Linked DNA regions of Homo sapiens: regions 1, 2, 4, 5, 6 and 7 are each linked to region 3. Evidence: promoter capture Hi-C in 16 types of primary human blood cells and fetal thymus (Javierre and others, 2016). All regions are on one chromosome and are shown on one strand. The core of a region is centred on a gene start or on the middle of the fragment in contact, and the rest is flanking DNA. Distances in the headings are between cores, read along the strand shown. Region 1 holds the start of SERPINB1 (serpin family B member 1). Region 2 overlaps LINC01600 (long intergenic non-protein coding RNA 1600). Region 3 holds the start of FOXC1 (forkhead box C1). Region 4 overlaps MYLK4 (myosin light chain kinase family member 4). Region 5 has its middle 7.9 kb from the start of LINC01600. Region 6 overlaps MYLK4 (myosin light chain kinase family member 4). Region 7 holds the start of LINC01011 (long intergenic non-protein coding RNA 1011).

Region 1 (2,700 bases), core at 40-2,539, 1.2 Mb before region 3:
GGCAATGTTTAGTGGAGCAGTGGGATTGGGGCCACTGCAGAGAGCCCCAAATAGAGTAATATCTAGTGGAGCTGTGGGAACAGGGCTGTCCCTGAGAACCCAGAACTGTCCAGCCACCAGCATGCAAGTCTATCCTGGGAGAGCCTAGACCTCAACCTGTGAGAGCTGCTGCATGGGTTGCACCTGGCAAATCCATGGGAGTGGATCCCCTGGACACTAGGGGACCCAGTCTCCACCCCCCTGTGCTCGGAATGGGGGACACAGCATCAAAGAAGATTATTCTGAAGCCCCAAGATTTAATGCTGTTTGCCTTGTTGGGTTTGGACTTACTTGGGACCAGATACTCCTTTCTTCTTGCCTGCTTCTCCCTTTGGGAATGGGAATGTACGTCCTATGCCTGTCTCATCACTGTATTTTGAAGGCCTGTAACCTATTTGATTTCACGGGCTCATAGCTGGAGGGGAATTTCACTTAGGATGAATTGTACTTTGAATCTTATGCCTTTCTAATTTAGAAGATATTTAGGTGAGACTTTGGACTTACATTTTAAAGTTGATACTGGAACTTTGGAGGCCACTGGGATACAATGCATGCATTTTGCATGTGAGAGGGGTATGAATTTGGAGGGCAGGGGCAGAATGCTATGCTTTGAATGTCTGTGTTCCCTGCAAAATTCATGCTGAAACAATCCTCAATGCAATACTAACAGGTGGTGCCTTTAGGAGGTGACTGGATTATGAGGGCACCTTCCTCATGAATGGGATTGGCCCCTTATACGAGAGACTTCACATGAGATTTGGCCCCTTTTGCCCTTCCACTTTCCACCATTGAGGACGCAGCAGCAAGCTGTCATCTTGGAAACAGAGAGCAGGTGTTTGGAACTGGTTCTGTTTCATCTGATTCTGGGGGCCCCTCTTTTTCCCTGTGCAAGATCCCCAAATTTGCTTCCTTCTCTCAAAGAAAGCTCCCAATATAGATGGGACTCAAAGGGAGTCATTTGCCCTCTAAGAGGTGTCACAATATGTCGTCTCAGTCATTCACACCTTAGTAAGAAAAAGCTTTTCAGGTCCTTGCCAGAGATTCGGGGAAAGGCTTTGAACTGAGAAAGAAGCCGCGCCCCTGAGGAGGGCGCTGCCCGGAAGCCACGCTCACTTCTGCTTGCACTTAGGCGACCTCGGGAGCTCGGACTCCTACGCAGTCACCGGGAAGGGCCGCCGCCCCGCCCGCGGCTGCTGGCCCGGGTGACGCTTCCGCCTGCTATAAGAGCAGCGGCCCTCGGTGCCTCCTTCCTGACCTCGCACCCAGCTCGGAGCCCGGAGCGTGCCTCGGCGGCCTGTCGGGTAAGGCCGGGCCTCGGAGCGGTGGCGCGGGGGCGGGCGCGGGGAGAGGCCAGGCTCCCTCGCTCAGCTTCCAGCCCGGCACCCCCCACCCCCCAGGCTCAGGCCCCTCAGACCCGCAGCTCCCTGCGCTCGCCCTCCCCGCCAGCTTCGCGCCCCCATCCCTTCCGGGCGCCCCGACGGAGACAGACGACCTCTGATCCCCCGCCCCCGCCTGGGTACAGGCCGGGCCAGCCCGCGAGGGAGGGAGGGAGGGAGGACGACAGATGCAGGCGGAAGGCAAGACTGAAACCTGAGATCAGAATGTTGTCCCTTCTCCCTGAATTCCCTTCCTCCCAGAGCTGTTTGTGACGGTTTCCAGGCAGCCCAGGGCCAGGCCGCGGCTCCTATCTGCAGCTGCAGGGAGAGAGAGGAGGAACCCCGTGCGATTCTAGAGACGATTTCACAACAAGGAGAAATCAGCTTTGTGCTTACATGCCGAGCAGCCAGCACGGTTCTTCTTTGCCTGTCCTCGGGGGAAATCAGGGCTCTGAGAGTGGAGATCGAGATGGGCTAGTGGGTGGCGGATGGGACGCTGCACGGCCAGACCCTGGACTGTGGTGGGTTTCCAAACTGGCACATCCTACACCGGCTCTGAGACTGTGGGCACTGGACCTCATACCTTTTGAACCTCAAAAATAAGGAAGAATTATATTATTATAATAATTACAGTGATACCTTTGCTGGAGTTTTAATGCATAGTAGGTAGCTGAGTCTCTGATAGAAGGCTCTTAGTTCAGGTGAAGGTAGGCAATGGATTCATTGCCCAATGAATCAGAGACTTGAATCAAAGGCTCAGAAGCACGTGCGCTCCCACACATAGGTTGGGAAGACCCAGGGCTGGGTGGGCCCTCCCACCCCACTAAAGCTGGGGTAGCTGGGGCCTGCCTTACCCCCGCCCCACCCCCAGACTCACCTGTCTGCAAGGTCAGAGCCCTTTAGGGCACCCTGGGTGCCCTAAAATCCCCTATAACTGCTGAGTCCTTGGCCAGAATGGTCCCACATTTGTGGGCCTGGGAAAGTGTTCTTGCCCTGCTGGAATAAAAAAGCGGGGAGAAAGTACAAGATCCAGGATGCCTCAGGGCGGTTGGCAGAAATTGAGGAAGCTTCTGGAGAAATAGTGCTGCCTAATCTGCTGGCGTGGGCAGTGGGCACCATGAGGACCCTGTTCTGTGTTGCAGTTTTCACCATGGAGCAGCTGAGCTCAGCAAACACCCGCTTCGCCTTGGACCTGTTCCTGGCGTTGAGTGAGAACAATCCGGCTGGAAACATCTTCATCTCTCCCTTCAGCATTTCATCTGCTATGGCCATGGTTTTTCTGGGG
Region 2 (2,700 bases), core at 173-2,672, 1.0 Mb before region 3:
CAAATCTTGTGGTCTGATAGTGTGATTTAAAAAAAAAAAAAAATCCCACATTGTAAGGCTGGGCTCACTCTGTGGCCCAGGCCCAGCCTGACTCCTCTGATGAGTGTTGGCTTAGGGTTTCCACATGAATAGCCAGGGTTGATGGATGAATACATTTACTGTCTGGACTGATAACAACGAACAGATTCCTGGTGGCAAGCACTGGACACAACCCTCACAGGCCTCTAGAGTAACCGCGTTGATTCAGCAACATGGCCATTTGAGTTAATTTTATCAGAATGGCAGTGGCTTTGAGAACTTACTCACACAAACCCACAGTTTGTCATGTTCCCAAGACCACAGCAGGTATGGTCTAAGACCGTCTGTCGAATGAGAAAATTCGTCATTGTCTGTTTCCTGCTCCCTAGTCGTTAGCAATATGCTTTCCTGGACATTTTTGCTTTTCCACATTGGAATGGGAAAAAAATCTGTTAGGAGAGGCACTGAGTATTCACCAAGAGATGGTACTGTGTTTGGAAAATTAGTTGGTTTGTACAGATCACCTGCTTTCTGGTAACTGCTTTTTAAGATAGATAGCTTTGACTATTTTGGTGGGGAAGTTTGCGCTGAAATTCTTACCTTTTTTGTTTGTTTTGCGTAGTGAGAACGCTAATATTCTGTAAATGAGTCTAAGCTACATTTTACTTGATGCGGGCAAGTATTATAGATTCCTTTAAGAGCCTTCATTTTTATCACATGCAAATCACGCAACCCATTTTTCAGTTAGGGTAAAGGAAGCTCTAAGAATAGGCCGAGATCTTCCACTCAACGGGTAAATAGAATTTGGACAAGAGTTTGAAAATATCAGCCATCAGTTTGCTGGGAAGTTTTGGGCAGCCAACTTGGATGGAATTCTCTGAGAAAAGAAAGGATTTTTTTCTGAATCATTTCCTTAGGAGGGAACTAACCACACCAATTTTAGTCTCAAACTTTCTAAGTTATTTCTCAAAGTCTTTGGAGGCTATTCAAACCAGTTCCAAAAGTTTTTATAAAGTCGAAATGGCTCTGAAATCTCCTGTCCAAGTACTGAGACATATGCTAAATGGATAGGGTGTGAGGCAGTTTTCTGAGAGTTTGTTTGGATTTCAGGAAGTGGACAAGATAAGCTGAATGGCCTTTTCCTGCTCTGACTCTTAAAAAAAAAGAAAAAAGAAAAAAAATCTCACCCAAAGATGCTTGAAAGAAACCATGGACATTTCCTAACTTCAAAAGAGTAGAAAATCTGCTAGGAAGAAAAGAAAAATCACTATCATAGGCCCAGGATGTTGCAAAGACGAATCAAAACAGGAATGCAAATCGGGACAGAGCTGGAACAAACATACAAGTCTTGAGGTTGTATTTTTATGTGCTGTTTGTTTTTGTACGAACTTCCCTGTGAAAGAGGACGAAACAGAAACACACCTGTGTGGTCTGAAGGGTTTCCCTTTTCCTTCTGGCCTTGGCTTCTTTTCTTTGCCATTCATGTTCAGGAATAGAGATAATCTCGGCGGTGAGGGATGTGCCATTTTGAAGATTGTCTCAGCGCAGTTTCTTGTTGGGAACATAGATGATTGAGAGCCCGGTGCATTTTTGCTATTTTTAATTAAATGAATGGCAGCATGCTGCTATACTCATTGTATGGCAAACTTCAACATGGGTCGATTTTCCAGGGGGAAAAAGCCACTGCATTTGCTTCCTGGGCAGCTCCAAGGGTGAGTTTTCACTTCTGCAGAAACATGAATGCATCGTGTTCACCTTGTTGGAGGTATTCAATGTCACAGGGCTCTTTGGATCTCCCAGCCCTATGTCTAGGCCCATCTGGCAGGCTTGGGGAGCTGCACTGGGCTCTTCTCTCAGGAACAGGAAAGAAAATTTGGATCCTTCAGTCCTGGGACAGAGACTCAGAGGATCCCAGATTCCCCATTCAACAACAAGCCCTCTCTCAGGCCCTCAAGATGAACACGTGGCCCGTTCTCAGTGCACCATGCTAGAGTAGAAACCTGTGGTCAGGAAACTTGGGATGAAATCCCGCTACTGGGGGAAATCTGCTAACCCCTCTGAACCTCATTTTTCACTTGCATCAAAGGGGATAAAGTGTCCTGCTTCTTGCCTCCGGACTGTGGGCATTGGTGGGATTGGATTGGGTCATGGGGAGCCGTGGGGTGGCACTGGGGAGCTGCATCAGCCACCAGCATCTCTGAGGCCTTTGCTTTCTCTGAGGGAAGGCCCAGTTTGATTTAGGTCCTGAGAATCCCAGAATGGCCATTTCTGGAAAAATAACCAAAAGCCCAGATTTCCCTTTTAATTTTATCGCACACAGGCCAGCACTACGCATAACAAAATATTCCATTTCTCAAAAGGAAGTCTTAGAATATTGGACGAATGCACTGTGTGACTTGACTTCATTCACAAAGCACCCATGTCCCTTGGATCCCTTCCGCTCTCCCTCCCGCCCCCACGCTGCCCTTGTTCTGGGAAATTCAACTCTCCAGGAGTAGCCAGCACAGAGGCCTGAGCCCTCCTAAGGCTGGGCTCCCAGCAACGCTAGTCGTTCACTGTCTGACTTTAAATTCTCTGAGCACTCGTCTGCTCGTCAGTAAAATCCAGAGACGAATCTGCTGTCTAGGGCAGACATGAAATCAATGTAAAGCGCCCGAGCACGGGCGTGTGGCTCTGACCCAC
Region 3 (2,700 bases), core at 131-2,630:
GAGCGGCCGCGCCGACGGCAGGCTGCCCGGGGGGCTGCTCCCGCTGGACAGGCTGCTGCTGCTGCTGTCGGGGCTCTCGATCTTGGGCACCGCGGCGGCGCTGCCGCTGCCCAGGGCGGCGGCCGGGGACAGGGGCTGGGGCGGCGAGGGGCACGTACCGTTCTCGGTCTTGATGTCCTGGATGCGCACGGGCGGCGGCTGCGGACCGGGCGCGTTGCCGTCGGCCTGCTCCGGCGGCGCGGGCGGGGGCTGGCGGCCGGGCGGGGGCGGCTCCTTGAGGTGCAGCCTGTCCTTCTCCTCCTTGTCCTTCACCGCGTCCTTCTTCTTGAAGCGCCGCCGCCGCCGCAGGAAGCTGCCGTTCTCGAACATGTTGTAGGAGTCCGGGTCCAGCGTCCAGTAGCTGCCCTTGCCCGGCTTCTTGTCGTCGCGCGGCACCTTGACGAAGCACTCGTTGAGCGAGAGGTTGTGGCGGATGCTGTTCTGCCAGCCCTGCTTGTTGTCCCGGTAGAAGGGGAAGCGGTCCATGATGAACTGGTAGATGCCGTTCAGGGTGATCTTCTTGTCCGGGGCGTTCTGGATGGCCATGGTGATGAGCGCGATGTAGCTATAGGGCGGCTTCACCATGTCCTTGGGCTGCGGCTGCGGCGTGTAGGGCCCGTAGGCGCGGGCCATGCCGCCCGGGTACTGCTCGGCGTGCGCAGGGTGCGAGTACACGCTCATGGGGGCCGGCATGGCGGTGTAGCCGCCCCCGGCCGCCGCGGCCGCCGCGCGGTAGTAGCTCTGCTCGCCGCCGAGGTAGGGCACCACTCCCAGGGAGTTGGGGCTGGACACGGAGTAGCGCGCCTGCATGGCCCCCGCTCGCCGCCGCCCCGCGCCGCCCGCCGCCCCCCACCCTCGCTCGGGCCGGGCCGCGCCGCGCCGGCCGCCGAGTCCGAGTCCGGGCCCGGCCGAGCTGGTGCCGGCCCGCTGCGCTGTGCGTCCGGCTGCGCTGCCGCCTCTCCCGGCGCTCGCTGGGGCTGGCTCCTCCGGCGCCTCGGGCTACCTCGGGGCCCGCGCGGCCGCGAGGCGGGGTCGCTGCGAGGGGAGAAGGCCGGGCCCGGCCGCGGCAGACCGCCTTGCAGGAACTCGCGGCGCAGCTTCCAGGCGCAAACGGGGGAAAGCAGACAAAAAGAAAGAACAAGCAGGCGCCCTTCTCGCCACACTGCCTGCGCCTTCCAGGAGACTCTGCCCTGAGCTGCCGGCGAAGGCGGCCAAATAACCAGGGCGGGGGGGGGGGGGGCCGCGCGCCGGCCGCCTGCCCGGGCCCCGCGTCACCTTTTCTCGGTCTCTCGCGCGCCAGCCGCTTAAGGAAGCATTGGGAAAACTTCTGAACTTTTGAGCATCCGTCACCCAGGCGAGGACTTTTTTACGCAGTTACACTTTTTTCCGGGCAGCGGAGCCCCGCCCCGCCAGCGGCGGCAGCCAATGGGAGGTGAGAACCGCCTCCGAATGAGCCGGAGGCCGAGCCCTGCCGGCCCGCTCCCGGAGGCCGGAGGACCGCGGGGCTGACCACACGCGCGCCGGCCGCCCTGGCCCGGGCCCCGGCCCTGCGCCCGCGCCGGCGCCCGGCCCGCCGTCGGTTCGCCCCCCGCAGTCCACCTGCCTGCCGCCGGCGCCCGGCAGACCTCCCACCCCGGGCCCTCCGGACCCACGCCCGCCGTTCGCGCAGACTTCCTGGGTCCTCCCGGGACCCCGTGCAGACCCTTCCTTCGCCCACGGCTCCCGAGTGGCCCTGGCGTCTCCGCCCCGCCTCGTGCTGGCTCGCTCTCATTCCTTCGCCAGCCCCGCCGACGCCAGCGCTGGGGTTGCCCCAGCCTCTCCTCCCCGCCGCCTCTCCCCTCCCGCAGCCCCTTCCCTCCCTTCTCCAACGCCAGTCTCACTCGGGTCACTGACGTCTCCGGCTTTTCTCCACTTGGAGGTTCTCCTGTCCTGAACTCGGCTACAAAGGACATGATTTTGAGGGCTCGGTCACAGCCAGGCCCTGCTCGCGGTGGGGAAGAAGGTTCGTCGCCCATCTGGCCCCCCTCCATGACCCCTCCCCAGCCGAAATGAAGGCAAGGGGTGCGGGGCCCTGCTGGGAGTTTCCGACGGCCGTTCACCCGCGAAGGATGAGCCCGCCCCGCTGCGGGCCGCCCTGCTTCTCGCCCCCCTCCCCGGGGGGCCGGCCCTTGGCGGCCTGAGGGTGCGGGCGGCGAGGGCTGCCGGAGCCCGGCTGCTGCCCCGCGCTCCCCTGCCCGCCCGCGAGGGTCCCACCGGCTCGCCGCGCCGCCGCCCCCTCTGATCCCGTCAGGCCCGTTTCGGCTCAGATGAGGGGTCAGGCTGCGGGCTCGGTGACATTAGCAGGTGTGATGACAAGAAGCAAATAAATATGTCTAAGAGCTTAACGCTTCCCCAGGCCAGTCTCCATCTCCACATGCGCGGGGCTGCCGGCTCGCAGAGACAACGGGTGTGTCTGGGGGAACGTCCAGGGTCGCACCTAGAGGGCGGTTCAAGGATTCTGGGGGGACACGCACGGAAGGGCCCCCGCTCGTTGTGCACACGCCTGAGATTCGCCGTCGCTGGGTGGTTGGAATGGGACAGGAAGAAGAGAAATGAGGGAAAGAAACGAAGGAGCGGGAAAGAGCCAGGCCTCCCTCCCCCGGCACGGCGATTCTGCATTTT
Region 4 (2,720 bases), core at 23-2,522, 1.1 Mb before region 3:
TTTGGCACAGATATCTTTCCTAAGCTGCAGATCCATATGTCCATCTGTGTACTAGATGTTTCCACCAGGATCTTCCCATCCCTAAACTAATCTCATCTCCCTGCCCCTTGCCTCACCATCAGTGATCCTCTTAGGGAAGGATGCCCATGGAGCGGCCCCAGCCAGCCCCCGTACATCTTCTTTGCTTCCTTCCTCTCCCTCGAGCCCCCATCTCATGTTTAATTTACCTCCATGTTGTGTACATGATATCCCCTAATTACCTCTGGAAGCTGTCTGTTTCTCTCCATTCCCATGGTGACCGTGGCCTGGGACATGCCTCCCCTGAGTGACTGCAGCCTCCTAACTGGCTTCTCTGCCTCCTTCATGTTGTCTCCATCCAAATAATTGTGGATTATATAATTAACACAGAAACAGATGTGTAATGCCCAAGTAACTTTACTGAACATCTAGGATGTTCAACTGGCAAGATGCATATACAGGCAAGACGCCATGCCAACCTTTGGGCCCACCAGGACCTGTCTGATGTACCTATCAGTTAGGGTGGCTGGTGCCCTGCCCTGGTATAGCATGGGTTTGATACGTTTTTGTTTCTTCCACCTTTGCTCCTCATCCTCTCCATTTCCTGAGGTTTTGGAATGGAACTTTTTCACTGACCAACAAACCTTGGAATGACTATGCCTTAGGTACTCACTTTTTCCACATCCAGTTTTTATTGAAATTAACTTTACTTCTAAATTCAGCATCGGCACTAAGTTTTATTTGTGTCTGAATATACCTTTCCTTGATAATTGGTACTGATGTCAAGTAAAAATAGACTTATTACCTAGTGGGTACCTCACCCAGACTACATAAACTGCTTATTAGGGTTACTAACCTATTTTGAGCCAATTTTCCACCGATGTATTTTTATCCAAGCTTATTGGTGTCCAAATACACTTTGACATGGCAGGATAGTATAGAAACCACAGCAGATAATTAATGACATTGTACAGTTTAAAAAGTGTTTAAGAATATTTTTTAAACCATATAACAACAAGTAAAATCACCTTTTGTATCCATCCATCTGCTGGTACCTGAGGTGAATAGATAGTTCAAGAGTGATGATGGGTTTTTTTTAATGAAAAATAAATTTCATTTTATAAATCTAGTTATTACAGCTATAATTATACAGTATTGTGGAGGTACTCTTCTAACTGCTTTACAAAAAATAACTCACTGACTCCTCATAGCAACGCACAAAATGGGCACATTAGTGTCTGTAGCTGAGAACACTCAGGACAGGGCTGAGCTCTGGAGTCCGGGCAGAGCCTCACTGCTCTGCTCTCCTGCCGGTGATGGGCTGCTGGGTACAGGGGACCTGAGCGATGCTTCCAGAGCCTTTCTTGTACCATACAGTTTTAGTGTTACTGAAAATCAATATTCAAACTTAGTATATCTTACTTTTCAAGGAAATATTGAGACGAAAGTTTTCCAGAAGGCTTATTTTTAGATTAATATTGGTTCTACAAAATCAGAATTTACTTTTAAGTTGAAAATTTAATTCTGATCCAAAACTGTTTACCATTTCAATCTAAATTCTATTTTTGAGTCTTTCGTATATTTTTATTTGTCTCTTTTGCTTCAAGCTTAAAAGCACTTACTATTTTGTAACCACTTGAGTAGCATATTGACTGTCACTAAATTTAAGAAGGATTTTTTTTTCTTAGAAGTTAACATCCGAGAGTTCTCTGCCCTCTGTATTATGCTCAAGGTGACATGCGATGGTTTGCAGCCTTTCTTACGTCCCCAACCCTCTGTGTATAACCTGTTTCCATCAGAAGCAGCTCTCAGCTGGGGTGGGGCAAAGCACTCCCAAATTAGGAATCTACTAGAACTCAGCACCTACTGCAGAATTAGCCAGGGTTCTGGGGCCAGAGGAAGGAACACGACACAAATTTGACATGTTTTCTTTCCCCCAGAGCTAAGAAGCCTCTGACCCTTCCTTCCCATTCTCAGTGTTGTGACCTCGGCTCATGCCCTCTCAGTGAACTAATAAAACAACCCATGAGCTGATATCCAACCTCTACTCACCCTCTTCCCTAATCTATCAAATCATTAGTTCCTTAATTACAGCTCAGACCTTGACTGAAAAAATCTTCACGCGTTTCCCATTGTCCACACTAGACCCAACCCGGTTGCAGTCAGGGCCTGCTCCAGGACACCCCCAGCTCTTCTTTTGAGTCTCGTCTTCACTGCTGCCTCTAGAGCAGCCCACAAGTCAGTACTTGTCTAAGGCCTGTATTAAATGCCCCAGCTTTTCCAATCCTCAAACTGGAGACTCTTTCTCTGTCTTCTTGAATCTCTTTGTGGAATTCACATTACCGTTGTCTACTCAATTTGAAAACTTTTGGAAGAAGCCATTTCTGTGTCTGACTCATCTTTGCAGTCATCGTAGCCCCAGTATCGCAAGTGATAGAGCATTCTTGTGCTATACACGCGTGAGTTTTTGCAAAACATACCTGAGTGTGATGAGGTGCTGAGCTGTTTGGCCCTGACTCTAAGTGAGAAGGAAGGGTCGTGTGACAGGGGCCTCAGGGGAGAGTGGACTCTGAGATGGACTCTGAGGTTGGCCGGTGTGTCTGCCAGGGGGTTGTCGGGAATGTAGGCTTCAAGAACTTCTCTTGAAGAGCACCTTCTCCTCAGTAGCAAGTGATTGTCTTTTCATGTGAGCTCATAAGTCA
Region 5 (2,700 bases), core at 117-2,616, 1.0 Mb before region 3:
GCATTATTTACATATAATAAAATTCAGGCATTTGAAATACACACACGGTACAGTTAACACACACTGTAGTGCCCGGTATGGTGAGTTTTGGTTATTTTATAGAGCAGCCATCACCACAATCAAGATCTGGAACATTTTCATCACCCTAGAAATTTCCTTGAGTCCCTGTGTAGCCGATCCCCTCTCCTGGCCCCAGCCCCTGGCAACTGTTAAGGACCTTTATGCCACTATAGCTTTGCCTTTTCTAGACTTTCATATAAATGGAATCAAGTGATATGTAATGCTGTGTGTTTGACTCCTTCACTGAGCAGAATGGTTTTGAGCTCCATTCATCTGTGGCTTGTGTTAATGCTGTGTTCCTTTCTATTGCTCAGTAGTTTCATTGTATAGATATCCCAGACTTTATTTATTTAGCAGCTGATGGGCCCCTGGGTTCTTTCCAGTTCTTGCTTATTTGAATCATGCTGCCATGAACGTTCGCATTTGAGTCTTTGCATAAACTTAGCAGTCATTTCTCTTGGGTAAATACCCAGATGTGAATTTCTGGGTCATGGTTAAGTACATATGGCCACACAGTTTTCCAAAGTGGTTGTGCCAATTTGCCATGAGTATAGAAGAGTTCCTGTTGCCCCTCCTCCTCATTAACACATGATATACTCAATTTTTTAACTTTAGCCATTCTAGTAGGGGTATAGCGCTATCTCAGTGTGGCTTAATGTTGAGTACCTTTTCATGCACTTACTGTTCAGCTAACATTGTTGTTAAGCAATATCCTGAAATATTCTTTTTTTTATTTTTTTGAGACAAGTCTTGCTCTGTCACCCAGGATGGAGTGCTGTGGCATGATCCTGGCTCCCTGCAGCCTTGACTTGGGATCAAGCAATCCGCTCACCTCAGCCTCCCTAGCAGCTGGGTCTAGAGGCATGCACCACCACACCTGACTAATTTGTGTATTTTTTGTAGAGACGAGGCCATTTCATGTTGCCCAGGCTGGTCTTGAACTCCTGGGCTCAAGCCATCCGCTGGCCTCAGCCTCCCAAAGTGCTGAGATTACAGATATGAGCCACCATGCCCAGCCCTGAAATATTCTTAAGGGATGCACCGACCCTAAGGCCGATGTTATTCCCCTCAATTTGCAGATAAGATCTGAGGCACAGAGTGGCTGCACAATTGCCTTGCATTCCTTTTGGCAGAACTGGGGCTGAAGCTTCCTAGACTGGGCCACATGTTCTCCACTGCTGGGAACAACTGTTCTTAAAGGGCCTTGCAGACATATTAGTAACCTCAAATGGTGACAGACTGGCTGCACATTTTGACATTAATATGTTGTCATAGTTTGACATAAATAGAACTATTCAATATTACTACTTTTTTTCTTTTAAGCTGTGGAGCCTCTAACCATTCCTACCAGACTTAATAAATGGCACTGCCACGTGCTTAATTAGTAAGTGTTGAGAGTTACTTTGCTGTGAAGTATTCCCCTCCACTATCTTGGCCCATGTAGCATTTATAGGAAGGAAGCTTTCCATTTGTCCTCCCTTATCCTGGGAGCACACGGAAAAGGTCCAGGTCACTCAATCCTCCCTCCCCTCTTGGTTGATGGCCAAAATGCTTTCTGCCCTGGTAGAGTTGATCCTTTAACTAGAAACTGTAAGCCCAGTGCGAGTAAATGCCTAACATTGCAAACAGAGATGCTAAAAAGGGAACCTTTGTGACACACGCATCCTGCAGGATGTAGGGACGAGTGAATGGAAGAGAATGGGGTGGGGTGAGGAGTGAGTTCTACCTGCAGGAATGAAATGAAAGACCTGAAGCTGCTGGGCTTCCCAGCCAGCCACTAGGAAACACACTGGAGCCAGAGGTAGGTGAATATTTCTAATCTCCTAGAAAAGGCAATTAGGAGTGTGGGAACCACGGGAAAAGAAATTTCCATCTTTTTTGACTCTCTGTTCTCTCCCACACTTGTCATTCCTACCACCTTGTCTATTTCCTTGTTTTTTTTTTTTTAAGTTCTCTGAAATGAAAAAGTCTTATAGACTTGTTTTTAGGAGAAGTTATAGGAGATGAGCCCTGGGATATAGCTAATTTAGGGGGAAGAGCAGATGGTTTTAAAAAGGCAAAAAGGAAACTAACCTTCTGAGACTTGAAGAAAAGAGGCGATTTATACCACGGTGATTAGGAGAGCAGCCTGCTGTCCTAGTCATGTTTGTGCGTGCGTGTGTGTGTGTGTGTGTGCCTGTCTGTGTGTGTGCATGCATGTGTGCATGGTGTACATGTGGATGCGTGCGTGCACCCTTGTGTGTATGAGTGCAAGCATGTGTGGGGACGTGGGTCTACATCTGTGTGTTTGTGCGTGTGTGTGGTGTGTGCATGTGTATTGATGAGTGTGGAGAGGAGGGGTCATGTGTGAACATTCCAGAAAACATATCACTTTGGTTCTCAGTGGTGATTTACTCTTTGGGGTGAATTAACTACATTCATACATGGAGAGCAGTACTTAACGAGGATGGAGGAGGAAAGTTCATGGGCACTGAGTGTTGAGGAGGAAACCAGATGGCCGGAAAGGCTTCAGAAGACTCTCCTCTCGGTTTTGGCTTTCAGGTCTTTGTGGTTATATTCTGTGCTTTTACTTTAGAACTGCCTAAAATATCACGACTCTCTCAGAAATCCACTAGTCACTGCCCAAAGTCAAAGAATCTT
Region 6 (2,716 bases), core at 169-2,668, 1.1 Mb before region 3:
CCCGCTATGCTGGACAATTCTCCAAGAATAATGTATCACTCCAAGCCAGCAGGCACAAAATTAAAAGAGGGGCTCCCTTGGGGGCAGTAGATTGGGAGGGATATCCTTCTACGTGCCCTGTTGGCTCACATCTTGGCCAGCTGACAGCGCTTCCCCTCCTTGGGTTTGGCCAAGGGAGCACACGCTTGCTTTCAGCCCCTCACCTCCCCAAAGGGCAGCTCCATGGAGGGTGTGAACTACATGCTGCAGGCAGATGGCCTGCGGAACGCTTCCCCAGCACGCTGTTCTTAGCTACCTGTCCATTCATTATTGTCGAACCACTGACATTTTATCTGAAAGACCCCAGATCATGAAGTTTTAAAGGAAGTATAGTGAGTTTTTCAGTAAGGCGATGTGCTTTAGGGAGAAAATCCAGCGTTTGAAGACCGCCAACTGTGTTTCTGTCTGGATGGAGGGAAGAAGTTGCTTTCGGCCCAGTGGCCCAGCTGGGAGGGATTGCTCCAGCCACCCTTCTTGCTTATATAAATGAAAAAAGATCACAGAAGCCACTGCCTTCATATAGGTCCTAACAGGGTTCTTTGTAGGTTGTCAGAAACTTCTCTCCCAATGGTCTTGGTGGGTAAATGCTGAAAAATGCCTCCTTGAGAGAAACAGCATGAGGCCTTCACCCCCTCCCCAGTGAGGTTCAAAGTCACTAAAACACATCTGATCCACTAAAGTCCAGTCTGGAAAGCATCCTGAGAGGCAGAAGAGAAACACTCCTTGAGGGAGCCTGGCCCCCTGCGGCAGGCAGGGTTTAGGGTTGGGGAACTAAGGGAAAAAATACAGGGCCCCTTGGTGAAACTGGAATATCAGATAATGGTGGATCGTGTTTAGTATAAGTTTGTAATAATCAGTACACAAACCAAAGTTATTTGTTGCGTATCTGGAGAGGTGCGAGCTCCTTTGCCACGATCTCTGTGTCCCACAGCCGACCTGCCTTGGCATCCTCGTCTCCTGCCACTTCCTGTTTTACCCCATGTGCTTGCTGGTCCCTGAATTCTCTTCCATCTGTCTTTCCTCATCCTCCTGGCCCCAGTGGCTCCCCAGCCATGCCCAGAGAGGTTGGCACTATAGCTGAGCAATAGAATGGAGTCTTTGAAATTTGCTGCATATCCTGTATTTTTATTTGCATGATAATAGGGGCATGGCCTGTAAGTGGGGCTGGCACATGAAGTGTGTGTCATAACTGTGGCTTTGCAGGAGTGTGAGCTAAAGAGCTGGAACCTTGGGATCCCAAGCGTGAGCACAGTTGGTGGACAGTGAGCCAGGAGGGAGTGGGTATCTCCTTGAACCATGGCATGTGTGTACACATAGCAACCAGCAAAGACTCCATTCTATTGCCAAGCCCTATGATAGCAAAATGGGGAGGTAGCAACAGAAGGCAGAGACACAGAAAGCCAGGATCTGCCATCCACCGTGGAGATTCTCAGCTCTCTTTCCTCTGAGGTCAGCAGCAGAGATAGCTTCTTGGGGTGGGTGTGGATGGAAGAAGAAAGAGATGCCAGGGACCCTGTTATTGGGAGGTGGGTGCTTGACAGATTGGTTTGACAGATCAAGTCAAAGCAGATGTAAATGTGCTTGGTTTCCAGGTTGGTGAAATTTTGGTCACTGTGATAACTAGGACAGAAGGACAGAAGGAAAACACATTCTGTGGCCTCCACGGGCCTCCCAGCTGCAGCCTCAGCTGGAGTGCCAACCTCTCTGGGCATGGCTGGGGAGCCACTGGGGCCAGGAGGATGAGGAAAGACAGATGGAAGAGAATTCAGGGACCAGCAAGCACATGGGGTAAAACAGGAAGTGGCAGGAGATGAGGATGCCAAGGCAGGTCGGCTGCGGGACACAGAGATCCTGGCAAAGGAGCTCCCACCTCTCCAGGGCTGGGCATCATCAGACTGTTTTGTTTTTTTTAATAAAACTCTTCAGACAATACATGATGAGTTAAATAAAAGACACAAAAGTGGTTTCTTCAGAGAGACGGGGACTCAGACCCCTCTCATTCTGTAGAAAACAGTAAGGTTCCCCTGCACTGCCTGTGTCTTACATACGAAAAACACCTAAAGACAAATAAGGAGAAACATATACAAAGTCCTGCAGCAGTATTTGCTGCCCAATGTCTGATGCCATTTGTTGGGACCTTTGTTTTTCAAACTGTGGTACCTGGATCACTTTTAAAAATAGAGATATCAGCTCTGCTACCTACTGCCTCAGTGACCTTGTACTCATTACTTATCCTTTCCGTGCCTCAGTTTAATTGTGTGTAGAATGGGGGAAAATGGAGCCCATACAAGGTTGAGGTGAGCATTAAATAAGGGCTATACCAGGGCTACTGTAAGCCCTAAGTAAATGATAGCATTTTTTTTTTTTTTTTTTTTTGAGACGGAGTCCTGCTCAGTCGCCCAGGCTGGAGCGCAGTGGCGTGATCTCGGCTCACTGCAACCTCTGCCTCCCGGGTTCAAGCGATTCTCCTGCCTCAGCCTCCTGAGTAGTTGGGATTACAGGCATGCGCCACCACACCCAGCTAATTTTTGTCTTTTTAGTAGAAACGGGGTTTTACCACATTGGCCAGGATGGTCTCTATCTCTTGACCTCGTGATCCGCCCACCTCGGCCTCCCAAAGTGCTGGGATTACAGGCGTGAATGATAGCTATTATTAATAATAATGATGATGATGAGA
Region 7 (2,700 bases), core at 100-2,599, 1.4 Mb before region 3:
CGAGCCTCCTCGCCCCAGCCCGGTTTCCCGCGGGCCCCAGCCTCATCCCCCAAGGCCCCACCCTGAGAGCCCCCAGGTCCCAGCCGCGTCCTCCTGGACCCCTCCCAGGCGTGGCGAGCCGGGTCGCGGGAGCGCTCCGCCACCAGGGGACAGTGCGGCGCCGACCGTGGGCTGCTGGCTCGGCCGAGGGCACCCAGGCGCCCTCCGCTGCAGCGGGCTGGTTGCAGAGGGGCGGGCTCTCGCCAGGCAGCAGGCGCTCCGGGCGCAGCTGGGAGGAAGGAACGCCCCCGGGAGTGGGCGGCGGCCGAGGGACCCTGCAACCGTCCTCCCTGGAGGAGGCCCCCGCAGCTCCCGCAGCCCCCCTCATCCCGGACGGGCCGGGGATTGGGACTGGCCTGGGGTCTCCTACTCTCCTACTCCGCGCAGGAAGTAGCCCCTTGGCAGGACCGGCGGTGCCTGCTGCTTTCAGGAGCCCCGAGCCGCTTTTGTCTGGGTGCAGCTCAGCTCACATCCCCGATGCAAGTCTTTCCCGGCTCGTCTCCCCTTCTTCCCGGAGTCCATGCCTTGCTGTCGGTGACTCATCCCACACTGTGCCCTGCGACTCACCCTGTCGCTTTCTCTGTTCATCCGGGAGCGCGGCGCCATCTCCCTCCAGCCCCGCCTCCCCTACAGTGCTCCGTGCTGAGGTCGCACGTTCTCTCCTCCCTCCAGCTCCCTGGCTCTTGGCCCTTCCCAGGCCACCAGGCGACAGCAGCCTCCGCCTTCATTTCCCTTGGTCATTTCAGGCGCATGCTTGGAGGATTTCAGGATCTGACTCAGCTTCCCCGCCATGCATCCCTCCACCAGCATCCAGTCACACCTCTGCAGCCTTCAGTGTCCTGGAAAGGACTGACCAATCTGACCCATTAGAACCTACCCAGACCAATTTGAAGGCCACTGCCCCTCAACCGTGGCCACCCACTCCTGCCCCACCTGGAGCCCCAAACTGCTCAGTTCCTTCTCTAAAACTCTGCCCTCTTTTGTTTGTTGTGAATAACTGTCTTCCCTGGTTCTTTCCACACCTCTCTGGCCTCTCCTTGTCTTTTTCTGGTTCTTTTTTTCTCTATTCTCCCTTATGCACTGGCCTTGCTGGAGGTCCCTGCTCTCCCTGCAAAACCTCACCACACCCTTGACTTCAGCTATATCCATTTCACCTCACGTTGACATCTGGTGCCTAGACCTCTCTCCCGAGCCTTCCACACCATGCCAAAAATGAAATTCATTTTCTCCTCTAAATTTGCTCACCTTCTTGTTTTCCCAATCTTATTTATTGTCACAGCCATTCCCCTGCTGGTCCAAGTCAGTAGTCTGAGAGTCATGCTAGACTCCTCCTTCCTTATCTACCCATCCACCAATCCCCAAGCCCTGTCTATCCTCCTTTTTTTTTTTTTTTTTTTCCAGTCAGAGTCTTGCTGTGTTGCCCAGGCTAGAGTGCAATGGCACGATCTCGGCTCACTGCAATCTTTGCCTCCCGGGTTCAAGTGATTCTCCTGCCTCAGCCTCCTGAGTAGCTGGGATTACAGGCGCATGTCACCACGCCCAGCTAATTTTTGTATTTTTAGCAGAGATGAGGTTTTGCCATGTTGGCCAGGCTGGTCTTGAACTGCTGACCTCGTGATCCGCCTGCCTCTGCCTCCCAAAGTGCTGGGATTACTGGCATGAGCCACTGTGCCTGGTCATCTATCCTCCTTTTTAAATAGCTCTGCCATGTGTGCCTGTCTCCCCTGACAGCTCACCCTCATCCTATTTGTCCACATTGCTGCAGAGTAGTCTCTTCCATACACCAGGAGTTCCCAACCCCCGGGCCACAGACCTGACTGGTCTGTAGCCTGTTAGGAACCAGGACACACAGCAAGAGGTGAGCCACCAGTGGGTGAGCTAGTGAAGCTTTATCTGTATGTGCAGCTGCTCCCCATTGCTTGCATTACCACCAGAGCTCTGCCTCCTATCAGATCAGGCAGCATTAGATTCTTATAGGAGCACAAACCCTACTGTGAACTGCACACATAAGGGATCTAGGATGTGCGCTCCTTATGAGAATCTAATGCCTGATAATCTGCCGTTGTCTTCATCACCCCCACATGGGGCCAGATAGTTGCAGGAAAACAAGCTCAGGGCTCCCACTGAAAATAAAGTGCACAAGAAGTGTCATGTGCTTGAATCATCCCGAAACCATCCTCTGCTGTCCAAGGAAAAATAGTTTTCCACAAAACCCCTCCCTGGTGCCAAAAAGGTTGGGATGGTTGCCATACATAACTCTGATGATGAGACCACGAAGCTCAGAATCCTCCAGAGGCTCTCCACTGCCTGTAAGATGAAATAAAATTTATGGGTGTGACTTATCCATAAGGGCCCAGTCTAAACTGCCTCATATTTAATTATATAGTAAGCTATTTGTTTCCTCAAACGTATATATTTTGGCCCATTTCCCAGTCTCCTAGGTTGGAATATGCTCTGTGTGTCACCTGGCCAGCTCATGCTCTTTCTCATTCTCAGCTCAAGTGTTAGGGACTCTATGACACCTTTCTTGATTCTCCCAGTCAGACATATTGTTGCTACTTTTTCTTAACACTTATCCTTTTATCCTTGGCACCACTAAAGCACATATCACATCAGATTTCACTTGTTTGCACATCTGTCTGGCATCTTGAGCCCAGGGAC

Evidence for each region. Contacts are between HindIII fragments. The CHiCAGO score rates a contact against its expected background, and 5 or more counts as called.
Region 1: a contact is called between the fragment with the promoter of SERPINB1 here and the fragment with the promoter of FOXC1 in region 3, in 1 of 17 cell types (neutrophils). The highest score is 7.3, in neutrophils.
Region 2: a fragment that was not itself captured here is called in contact with the fragment with the promoter of FOXC1 in region 3 in 9 of 17 cell types (naive CD4 T cells, neutrophils, total CD4 T cells and 6 more); the score reaches 15.1 in naive CD4 T cells.
Region 4: a fragment that was not itself captured here is called in contact with the fragment with the promoter of FOXC1 in region 3 in 1 of 17 cell types (M0 macrophages); the score reaches 6.1 in M0 macrophages.
Region 5: a fragment that was not itself captured here is called in contact with the fragment with the promoter of FOXC1 in region 3 in 13 of 17 cell types (total CD4 T cells, non-activated CD4 T cells, naive CD4 T cells and 10 more); the score reaches 18.8 in total CD4 T cells.
Region 6: a contact is called between a fragment that was not itself captured here and the fragment with the promoter of FOXC1 in region 3, in 1 of 17 cell types (total B cells). The highest score is 5.0, in total B cells.
Region 7: a contact is called between the fragment with the promoter of LINC01011 here and the fragment with the promoter of FOXC1 in region 3, in 1 of 17 cell types (neutrophils). The highest score is 8.4, in neutrophils.

What each region holds. Positions count from the first base shown.
Region 1 is chr6:2,840,452-2,843,151 of GRCh38, reverse strand. SERPINB1 (serpin family B member 1) reads left to right here and starts at 1,289. Exons shown (of 7, transcript NM_030666.4): 1 at 1,289-1,340; 2 at 2,558-2,700. The coding sequence starts at 2,566. RefSeq lists a silencer at 1,345-1,394. The HindIII fragment of the contact is 1,424 bases long and covers 1,061-2,484 here.
Region 2 is chr6:2,624,148-2,626,847 of GRCh38, reverse strand. The region is part of intron 2 of LINC01600 (long intergenic non-protein coding RNA 1600); the gene reads left to right. Among named protein-coding and RNA genes, the nearest start is that of LINC02521, 9.0 kb to the left of the region's middle. The HindIII fragment of the contact is 3,963 bases long and covers 1-2,700 here.
Region 3 is chr6:1,608,595-1,611,294 of GRCh38, reverse strand. FOXC1 (forkhead box C1) reads right to left here and starts at 1,380. Exons shown (of 1, transcript NM_001453.3): 1 at 1-1,380. The coding sequence starts at 849. RefSeq lists an enhancer at 523-622 and a silencer at 953-1,572. The HindIII fragment of the contact is 8,300 bases long and covers 1-2,700 here.
Region 4 is chr6:2,671,402-2,674,121 of GRCh38, reverse strand. The region is part of intron 11 of MYLK4 (myosin light chain kinase family member 4); the gene reads left to right. Among named protein-coding and RNA genes, the nearest start is that of LINC01600, 38 kb to the right of the region's middle. The HindIII fragment of the contact is 710 bases long and covers 918-1,627 here.
Region 5 is chr6:2,641,120-2,643,819 of GRCh38, reverse strand. No RefSeq gene overlaps it. Among named protein-coding and RNA genes, the nearest start is that of LINC01600, 7.9 kb to the right of the region's middle. The HindIII fragment of the contact is 314 bases long and covers 1,210-1,523 here.
Region 6 is chr6:2,727,646-2,730,361 of GRCh38, reverse strand. The region is part of intron 2 of MYLK4 (myosin light chain kinase family member 4); the gene reads left to right. Among named protein-coding and RNA genes, the nearest start is that of MYLK4, 22 kb to the left of the region's middle. The HindIII fragment of the contact is 6,464 bases long and covers 1-2,716 here.
Region 7 is chr6:2,986,616-2,989,315 of GRCh38, reverse strand. LINC01011 (long intergenic non-protein coding RNA 1011) reads right to left here and starts at 1,349. Exons shown (of 3, transcript NR_026856.1): 1 at 1,285-1,349. RefSeq lists a silencer at 1-404 and enhancers at 1-597, 598-1,407. The HindIII fragment of the contact is 2,996 bases long and covers 1-1,928 here.